Linked DNA regions of Homo sapiens: regions 1 and 3 are each linked to region 2. The links are contacts of gene promoters, found by promoter capture Hi-C in blood cells and fetal thymus (Javierre and others, 2016). All regions are on one chromosome and are shown on one strand. The core of a region is centred on a gene start or on the middle of the fragment in contact, and the rest is flanking DNA. Distances in the headings are between cores, read along the strand shown.

Region 1 (3,239 bases), core at 236-2,735, 610 kb before region 2:
ATATAATCCATTTCATATATTGCTGAGTTCAGTTTGTTAGTATTTTGTTCAGGACTGCGAAAAGTTGTGTGGTTTTTTTTTGTTTGTTCTGAGCCCAGGCTAGAGTGCAGTGGCATAATCACAGCTCACTACAGCCTTAACTCCCCAAGCTCAGGTGATTCTCCCACTTCAGCTTCCCAAGTAGCTGGGACTACAGACAAGCACCACCACATGCAGCTAATTTGTTTTCTGTATTTTTAGTAGAGATGGGGTTGCACCATGTTGCCCAGGCTGGTGTTGAACTCCTGGCCTCAAGTGATCCACTAGCCTGGGCCTCCCAAAGTGCTGGGATTCCAGGCGGGACTCACCGGCTGCAAAAAGTTTTAAAACATGAAAAACACCACCATATATTGTACTATGTATCACTATGTATCATTCAGGGGTATATACATATGTATAAAAACATAGGGAATTATATACAACAAATTGGGATAATGGTGACATCTTGGGGAAAAATAAGAATACAACTGGAAAAAGGTACAGAGGAACCCTAAGTATACTTGTAATATCTTATTTCTTAACATAGCTGTACTTGCAACGCTCGTGTTATTATTTAAACCTTTTTTATATATCTGAAACATTTTATAATAATAATTTTTTAAAACTTGGCTTGTATTTTTCCCATAACCTCTTCTTTTTTGAGACAAAGTCTCACTATGTCGCCGAAACTGGCCTCAAATTCCTGGGCTTAAGAGATCCTTTCACTTCAGCCTCCCAAGTAGCTGGCACAATAGGCGTGTGCTACCATACCCAGCTTCTCCGTGCCCTCCACCTCACCCTACCCCCTGCAACATTTAAAGAAAGGTTACAGATAAGAAACAAAAATTGCTGGCTGGCTGTCTTATACACTCTATTGCAATTCAAGACTGAAGAAGACCCAAATTACTGCTACACTGTCTGAAATGCCTTTTCACCCTTCAAGCTTCAAAAAACCACAAAGGTAACTGCTAGGCAGAGTTAACCATACACACTGATTTTTATTCCTTTACACAGGCATATTACACTATAATTAATCTATCTTTATATCTGCTTTCCTTACTAAACTATAAATTCCTTAATAGCCCAGAATCAGTCTTTTTCATATTTGTAGTTCCAGCTCCTAGCATGTCCTGGTAAACATTACATGTCCTGGTAAACATTACATACATTACATGAATAAATTTAGTAAATCAAGAAATAATAAAATGAAAATAGGCCTCAGTAATCCAAATTTTTATTAAAAGATTGCATTAAGGCCTGGGGCAGTGGTTCACGCCTATAATCCTCAGCATTTTGGGAGGCTAAGGTGAGCAGATCACTTGAGCCCAGGACTTCAAGACCAGCCTGGGCAACATGCAAAACTCCACCTCTAAAAAAAAAAAAAAAAAATTACACAACAAATAGCTGGGCGTAGTGGCATGCAGCTGTAGTCCCAGCTACTGAGGAGGCAGAGGTGGGAGAATCACCTGAGCCCTGGAGGTCGGGACTGTAGCGAGCCAAAATCATGCCACTGCACTCCAGCCTGGCAACAGAGTAAGACTCTTAAAAAAAAAAAAAAATTGGCCAGGTGCAACGGCTCACACCTGTAATCCCAGCACTACAAAAAAAAATTAGCCAGGCATGGTGGCCTGCGCCTGTAATCCCAGCTACTCAGCAGGCTGAGGCACAAGAATCTGTTGAACCCAGGAGATGGAGGTTGCAGTGAGTTGAGATCGTGCCACTGCACTCCAGCCTGGGTGAGAGTGAAACTGTCTCAAAAATATATATATATTGCATTAATATATTGCTGCAAAAGCCAAAAATTCAAAGGTATAGTGTCAATCCAAGATTAAAAGTTTAGAGCAATTCAAAATAATGGTAAGTCTAAAGATTTGTGTTCTAGTCCTGGCTCTACAGCTGACCAGCTGTGTGATCTTATTTTATTTTACCTTTAAAGTGAGGACGTTATTTCTTGAAGTCCTATTAGTTCTAAAATTGAATTTGCTGAATTTTAAGCTTTGGACTTGGATGAAAATATTTATATAGGGGAATATTTGTCATTTTGACTGCCTGAAATCCCTTTCTATTTGGAAAGAACCCAAATAGGTGAATGCAGCCCCCCTCCCGCCCACAAGCAGTTAAAGCACAGCTCCTAATTTAAGTGAGGTTAGAGACTTCTAGAAGGGGCTTTGCATCTTGAAGATAACACAAAGGCACAGGATCTTGAGGGAGCTGGGAGTCCAGGAGTACAACCAATCTGGGGGAAAGAATGCCAGCAACACTGCTCTAAGTAGATTATTCCTGCTGCAGGTCTTGGTCAACCTGTACCCTGGCCTTGTCAATACTGAGTGACCTAATACCGTTTTGATTAATTCCTTTTTGGCTTAAATTAACCAAGACCAGTTTCTTTGTTACAACCAAGAACCCTGACCAGCTGCAAAACCATAGAGAAACAGAGAAGGAACCTTAGGATAGGCATTTAGATGTTGCAGAAGAAGAGCAAAAGCAAAACCATAGCTAGATTTGCTCAGAGAACAATCAGGCACCATAGGGCATCGATTACAGCATTTTTGAGGTCTATAAAGCATCCTTCAACAATAACTAAGCACAACTCTTGAGTGTCATTCTTTAAAAAAAATTTTTTTCTTCATTGCCCAAGCTGGCCTCAAATTCCTGGGCTCAAGTGATCCTCCAGCCTCCCAAGTACAGGCACATGCCACAACACCTGGCCCGAATTATCATTCTTGCCACATAATAAAGGGGAGCATGTTTCCACTGGTGGAATGTCGTACTAAAACATCAGAGGCTCATAAAATAATTACATAGTTAATAAAGTTTTAAGAAAATTATTAACTATAGGCAACATTTTTTCATGACCTTCTAAGAATCAAGGTGGTTCAGAGCATCTGACCCACTGCTTAATCAAGCTCTCCTATATAATTAAAGGTTACTAGGTGGCTTTGACTAAAATTATGAAAAGGGACGGAAATGTCTTGTGGAGACACAGTATGAATGATAGAGCAAGACTGCTTCACGAAAATGTAAATGATCAAGTTATTTTTTCCCAAGGTTTAGGAATCCCTGAAGGGTCTGAACTTCTAAATGCTAACATGACAAGACCCAATTAACATACAGGAGCACAAAGTCATTCACTAACATATATGTGGAGAAAAGGAAAACCTCTCATGACACATCTCTTTAGGCTGCTGTGCCCAATCTTGTTTGGATGGGATGGGTGGCTA
Region 2 (3,270 bases), core at 740-3,239:
CCCAAAGTGCTGGGATTACAGGCATGAGCCACCGCGCCGGGCCACTATTACCATTTTTTTTTTTTTGAGACATAGTCTTGCTCTGTCGCCCAGGCTGGAGTGCAGTGGCGTGGTCTCAGCTCACTGCAAGCTCCGCCTCCCGGGTTCACACCATTCTCCTGCCTCAGCCTCCCGAGTAGCTGGGACTACAGGTGCACGCCACCACACCTGGCTAATTTTTTGTATTTTTAGTACAGATGGGGTTTCACCATGTTAGTCCGGATGGTCTCGATCTCCTGACCTCGTGATCCGCCCGCCTCCGCCTCCCAAAGTGCTGGGATTACAGGCGTGAGCCACCGTGCCCGGCCAGCTATTACCATCTTTTAAAAAGTTTTTTACAGGCCGGGCGCGGTGGCTCACGCTTGTAATCCCAGCACTTTGGGAGGCCAAGGTGGGTGGATCACGAGGTCAGGAGATCGAGACCACGGTGAAACCCCGTCTCTACTAAAAATACAAAAAAATTAGCCGGGCGTGGTGGCGGGCGCCTGTAGTCCCAGCTACTCGGAGAGGCTGAGGCAGGAGAATGGCGTGAACCCGGGAGGCGGAGCTTGCAGTGAGCCGAGACTGCGTCACTGCACTCCAGCCTGGGTGACAGAGCGAGACTCCGTCTCAAAAAAAAAAAAAAAAGTTTTTTACAAAGCCTTTTCCTTTGGTCACTCACCACCAGCTTACTCATTTTTTTTTTTTTTTGCACATTACCTTCCACACAAGTTTTACTTTGTGGCCACAATGTGCATACTTTTTTTGATTGTTACTTTCATGACATAGCAAATTGTTTCTATAGAGTCTTTATAAAGGTCATTTAAAATGACATGTGCAGTAAGTCAAAGTCTTCTTGTGCTAGGAAATTTGAAAAAACAAAAGTGTAGAGAAAAATACAAAAATTACTGAATCTGAACATCTATAGAGAAGTGTTGTTAGCAGTTGGTTTATTTCCTTCCAATCACATACAGATCATATCTGATGGGTAAAGAATATTCCATACTGTCAACAGACCACACTGTCTTCTAAAATCGCTTCAGCAGTGAGGATCCTCTGGAATAGATCTTGTTAATCCTGAGGAATTATTCTCCCAGCGGTGAGCTATGAGAAGTGGAATCACCAGATGTAGTAATTCCTGACAGAACTGCCGCCTGCTTGTGTGGCTGAGATGCTGACCTAGGTATCAGGCTGGTCGCGCCGGAACCCAGCACCCACGCTGAGTCTTTCTGAGCTCCACTCTGCTCCTGTTAGATATTAACCACCTGAGGTAGCTGTCCAGATTCAAGGCGGTAGTGATTTTGTGTGTCTGTGTATTTATCACGGGGTCCGCGGCGGGAACGCAGGGGCTGTGTCCCACGTCCCCAAACCTCTAGTAGGGTACGGCGCGATGAACATCTTCCATAAACCTTAAACCTCCCGGCGCTCAGTCACTGGTTCTTATTTCAGCCCTCTTAGCCCCGTAGGTCGGCGCGCTGAAAACCTTTCTGGTACCTGGGGCCTTTCCTAAGAAAAAGGCACATGTCTCGCACATTTCAGTCTGGTCTGCAACTTCAGGCGCGCCAGCACCCGAGGTTCTTCCGACCGGCCGCTCCGCTCCCAAGCCGGGAACTTCCCAGAGAATTGGCTCGGCCTCCGGGCGCGGGGGACAGCATCGGGAGGAGTGGGACTCCGGGCGCCGCGCACGGGCCGAGGACAGCCGGGCTTGGGAGGCCCTGCCCGCCGCCCCGCGTCCTCCCGGCCACTGCCACCCCGCGCATCCGGAGCCGCAGCAGACTCGGCGGGGCCCGGAGCCCCACGCCCCCGGCCCGCCCCTGGCCGCCACTTGTTTACTCCCCGGCGCAGCCTAGTCCGACCCTGGGGCCCGCCCCCGCCCACCGCCTATTGGCCGAGGAGGCGCGAAGAGCCGTAACGATTGGCCCGGGGAGGCGCGGGGCGAGCGGGGTAGGCTGCGCGAGAGGCCGAGAGGGGGCAGCAGGCGATGGCGGCGGCGGTAGCTGCGGCGGGTCGGTTAGGCTGGTTGTTCGCCGCGCTCTGCCTGGGCAACGCCGCGGGGGAGGCCGCGCCGGGCCCGCGAGTGCTGGGCTTCTGCCTGGAGGAGGATGGAGCGGCGGGCGCGGGTTGGGTACGCGGAGGGGCGGCGCGGGACACGCCGGACGCCACCTTCCTCCTGCGCCTCTTCGGCCCGGGCTTCGCCAACAGCTCTTGGTCCTGGGTGGCCCCGGAGGGGGCGGGCTGCCGGGAGGAGGCGGCCTCCCCCGCGGGCGAGTGGCGCGCGCTGCTGCGCTTGCGCCTGCGGGCCGAGGCCGTGCGCCCGCACTCGGCGCTGCTGGCGGTGCGCGTGGAGCCGGGTGGCGGGGCGGCTGAGGAGGCGGCGCCGCCCTGGGCTCTGGGCCTGGGGGCGGCCGGGCTGCTGGCGCTGGCAGCGCTGGCGCGAGGCCTGCAGCTGAGCGCGCTGGCGCTGGCGCCTGCCGAGGTGCAGGTGCTGCGCGAGAGCGGCTCGGAGGCGGAGCGTGCGGCGGCGCGGCGTTTGGAGCCCGCGCGGCGCTGGGCCGGCTGCGCCTTGGGCGCGCTGCTGCTGCTGGCCAGCCTGGCGCAGGCGGCGCTGGCGGTGCTGCTGTACCGCGCGGCCGGCCAGCGTGCGGTGCCCGCCGTGTTGGGCAGCGCGGGGCTCGTGTTCCTGGTGGGAGAGGTGGTGCCGGCCGCCGTGAGCGGGCGCTGGACGCTGGCGCTGGCGCCGCGAGCGCTCGGCCTCAGCCGCCTGGCCGTCCTGCTCACTCTGCCCGTCGCGCTGCCCGTGGGGCAGCTGCTGGAGCTGGCGGCGCGGCCCGGGCGGCTGCGGGAGCGGGTGCTGGAGCTGGCGCGCGGCGGCGGCGACCCCTACAGCGATCTCAGCAAGGGCGTGCTGCGCTGCCGGACCGTGGAGGACGTGCTCACGCCCCTCGAAGACTGCTTCATGCTGGACGCCAGCACCGTGCTGGACTTCGGCGTCCTGGCCAGCATCATGCAGAGCGGCCACACGCGCATCCCGGTGTACGAGGAGGAGCGCTCCAACATCGTGGACATGCTCTACCTCAAGGACTTGGCCTTCGTGGATCCCGAAGACTGCACGCCGCTCAGCACCATCACTCGTTTCTACAACCATCCGCTCCACTTCGTCTTCAACGACACCAAGCTGGACGCTGTCCTGGAGGAATTCAAGCGAGGTAACGGCCCGGGCATGGTGCAGGGGACGCCCGTGCGAGTGCCCTC
Region 3 (3,618 bases), core at 1,119-3,618, 520 kb before region 2:
GTGCCAGGCCCAGGCACATGAAGAAAAACAGCAGAATAAGCTGACCCATAGTGAAATGATGTCTGCACGGACAAGACAGCTGAATTATCCACCTCAAGTTATGGGAAAAGCTACCCATTTTTCTGCTGTTCTAAGCAACAGGTGATTAGATAGGCAGTACTCACATCAAGAGAGCAATCTGAAAAATTTTTTCCTGGGCCAACAACTTTTGCTGAGACCTTTGCCTCAAAACCCTCACCCCACGCACCTGGAAGTTGCCCGTCTTCTTGTCGTACTTGACCAGATTGTTCTTGTCCAGCATCAGGGCAGCTGTATGAACCAGATCTAGTCGGCGCTGGTCCAGCAGGGGATCTCCCTTGAGGTCATCATGAGAGATGCCATAGAGGGTTGGGGATCGCAGCATTCGGATATAGAGGTAGGCATAGCCCAGCCAGTTCACCGCATCCTACAAGACACAGCTCATGGTTCTTAGCATGGAGAAACTCTTGATGTCCAAATGACAGGCTCCCATGAATTGCTTAGAAATTAATTCCCAACTACAAGGATGCATATTACATCGTATTCTGAATGTTTTTAGCATTTCATTATTAAAAAGATCTAAGCGTCTTCTAAGATCTTGGTAACAAGGGGAACTATCTGCCAGACCCAAGATGTGGGTGCAGGGATGGAAGGCCTCGGACGCTGCTGGCCCGCAGCACAATAGGGACCGACCCACTCCTGGTGCCTTGGTGTCTGCGGGGAAAGCATGAAGCACAACAAGCAGTCCTCCCCTACCTTGGCATTCTGGACATTTCCTAGCACGATTTCTGCATTGAGCATGTCAGGAAGCTTTGAAACCATCTGGCTTTCAATAGGAAGTTGTTGATTGAGGAGGGACAGGTAGTACTGTAGCTCCCCATGAGATGTGATGAGTATGCCTTCACCCTTGGTGTCATACTGGGGTCTTCCGGCACGTCCCAGCATCTAGATCAGAGACAGCGAACCAAGAATGCTATGTCAAGAGAATGTCTGAATTTTGATGCAGGTATCTACATTACAGAACTAGACCTCTGATCTGCTAGCTTTCCAGCATCCCTGCATTTCAGGCAAGGATACTGATCCCTGCTGAGAATAAACTCAAAAGGCTCTGTACCTGCAGAATGTCCAGTGCTCCCAGTTCTGTCCAACGCCCCTTCTCTGGACTGTACACCTGGGTGCCTTTGATGATGACTGTATGTGCAGGGAGATTCACACCCCAAGCTAGAGTTGCTGTGGAAACTAAAACCTACAGAGGCAAAACAAGGTAATGAGGAGAACAGATGCCATCACCAGGGGTTAATATCCCTGGCTTCTCTAGGCAGTTGGCCTCAGAGCTTCTCTCAGGACTAGCCGGTAGGGCGCGTGGGGTCCCAGTACTTGTCAATGTGACACCAGAATAAAGAGGAAAGGTTTCCTTGGGTTCCTCATCTATTCAGTAATGAACATTTCAAGGTTCCAGAGGCACAAGTGCAGACTTGTATTAAACAACCTTAAAGTTACTAGAAAAGGTAAAACAGAGCCTATCCGGAAAGAGGGAACGACAAGGGCACGCGTGCCCCCATGAGACACTGTTTGGAGCTATCTGAAGTCACCAAAGTGCTTGCTTCACTATGCTTCTCAGACTATCCTAAACTCAAGCAAGGTGGGAAGAGTTGGGAGAGTAGCATAAGGTTCTATTTATTGTGTCCACCACAACCCTCTGACCTGGGCTAGCTGGGCCAGAAGCAATAAAGTACCAGGAGCAAACATGGCACAAACTTGACATTGCCCATCTTCTGAAGTATGTCCCACCTGCTCCTCCAAACGCTTTGCACCCCCTCACCTGAATATGTTTATCAGCAAAAAGATCCTCCACGAGTGTTCGGTCAACCCTGGTCATGCCTGCGTGATGAATAGCAAAGCCATAAGGCAGAAGATCCTTCAGCTCTAGGTTCTGTGGAACAAAGAACCGGGGATGAGGCGAGCCTTCCTGTAGGACTCATCCAAGGACTAAGGAAATCTCCTCCCATGAGACCCTGCCCCTTAACTATTATGTGGAATAGTAATAATCACATCCAGACAATCAACCTTAACCCATGGGAAACAACAATACCACAGTACAGTCCTAGAGGAGCTGTCTGGGGCCTGAGATGGACACAGCTGCCAGGTAGGAATGAGAGAACCCAGCTGGCCCCTCCTCACCTTGCACTGCTCAGCTTCTGTTCGCAGGACTTCTGTGGAGGCTGAGCCCTCCCTCAGAAACAGACCCAGAGTGTCCTTTTCTAGGCACATGTCCCGGATGGCCCTGGCTGTCTTTCCAGTCTCCTTCCGGGAGTGGACAAACACCAGCACCTAAGGAGAAGCCACAGTTTGCTACAGTCACGAGATACTCACAGCCCCAGGGCACCTGCAGCAGGAAGCAGAAGTTGCACCATCACCACCAGAAGCCAAGGTCCTGGAGAGGGGCAAGGGCAGGAATGTGTGCAGGCTCAGAGGAAGCCTAAACACGGCTGGAAAGACTTTTAAGGGAATGCACCCACCAAGTTCACAGTCCTGGAGCTGAGAAATTAAACCAACTTCAACATCCTATCTTGAACAGCAACTTTAAATAGACTACAACTACAAATTCGGGCCTCTCAACTCAGAATTTATGTTCAAGCACCTAACAAGAGTCAAAGCTGCATGAAAATGTGTCTGCAAAATAACAACTAAAACATTACACTACTTATAAAAGGATTTAGGAAATAAGTCTGAGACTAGTACACTGTTGTAGGGAATGAAGTCTTCCTAGTATTTAGTGCCAAGAAAAGATCTGTCTCTTCATATAAATTCATATGCTTCTTTTCATCAGACAAAAAGAAATACAAAACCAGTCACTTTTCCTTATTTTTTGTTAGTTAACATTGCTCAACTCGACTTTCAATTTAAAAATTCTATCACACTGTCTAGTAAAATGCCCTCTAGTTTTTCATTTTCCTCTTTTTATTGTCTTGCATTTTTAGTGTAAGTGACCCCAAATCTTTTATGGAGGGACCCTGGATAATGCGAATGCACAAAACAATTATCTGGGACTGGGGATTGCTTGCTGGGGGGATTTTTAATTCTCCAACTCTCTAATAGTTGTAGGGCTCTTCATGTTATCTATTTCATCTGGGCTGAGTTTTGCTAGTTAACTGGTAGTTGTTGGAGAACTGGTCCATTTCTTCTGAATTTTTAAAGTTATGAGCATAAAATTACTCATAGTATTCCCTTATTATCCTTCCAGTGGCTATAGGTTCTGTAGTAATATCCCATTTCATAGCTGATATTGGTGATTTATGTTGTGTCTTCTCTCTTTTAATTTCTGTCAATCTTCCCCAATTATTGGTGAATCAAACATTCGAAAGAATGGGGTTCAAGAGTAACCATAAACCACGGGCAAACCTGATTTTTTCCAGCATGTTCCATGATTTTTTCATAGACGATTTCATTCATGATCTGGAAACGCTTGATAGCTTTTTTCTCTGTGATACCCACATATGTCTGTTCCAGAGGCACTGGACGGAAGCTAGAAGTTCAACAGTTAGACAAATGAGGCTTTGGCAGAAAATACTGTGGGAATAAACAGTCTTTTTCACTGCC

The links. The method cuts DNA at HindIII sites, captures the fragments that hold promoters and counts their contacts. A CHiCAGO score of 5 or more calls a contact.
Region 1: a fragment that was not itself captured here is called in contact with the fragment with the promoter of CNNM3 in region 2 in 3 of 17 cell types (neutrophils, activated CD4 T cells and monocytes); the score reaches 7.4 in neutrophils.
Region 3: a fragment that was not itself captured here is called in contact with the fragment with the promoter of CNNM3 in region 2 in 4 of 17 cell types (activated CD4 T cells, total CD8 T cells, total CD4 T cells and 1 more); the score reaches 8.4 in activated CD4 T cells.

The regions. Positions count from the first base shown.
Region 1 is chr2:96,200,021-96,203,259 of GRCh38, forward strand. All of the region lies in intron 1 of STARD7 (StAR related lipid transfer domain containing 7), which reads right to left. Among named protein-coding and RNA genes, the nearest start is that of STARD7-AS1, 6.8 kb to the right of the region's middle. The HindIII fragment of the contact is 1,052 bases long and covers 960-2,011 here.
Region 2 is chr2:96,814,279-96,817,548 of GRCh38, forward strand. It overlaps CNNM3 (cyclin and CBS domain divalent metal cation transport mediator 3), which reads left to right and starts at 1,990. Exons shown (of 8, transcript NM_017623.5): 1 at 1,990-3,224. The coding sequence starts at 2,000. RefSeq lists an enhancer at 1,137-1,256 and silencers at 1,597-2,576, 2,587-2,726, 2,737-2,846. The HindIII fragment of the contact is 9,370 bases long and covers 1-3,270 here.
Region 3 is chr2:96,289,552-96,293,169 of GRCh38, forward strand. It overlaps SNRNP200 (small nuclear ribonucleoprotein U5 subunit 200), which reads right to left. Exons shown (of 45, transcript NM_014014.5): 16 at 3,421-3,544; 17 at 2,200-2,349; 18 at 1,841-1,951; 19 at 1,133-1,264; 20 at 775-963; 21 at 248-445. Among named protein-coding and RNA genes, the nearest start is that of SNRNP200, 14 kb to the right of the region's middle. The HindIII fragment of the contact is 3,084 bases long and covers 827-3,618 here.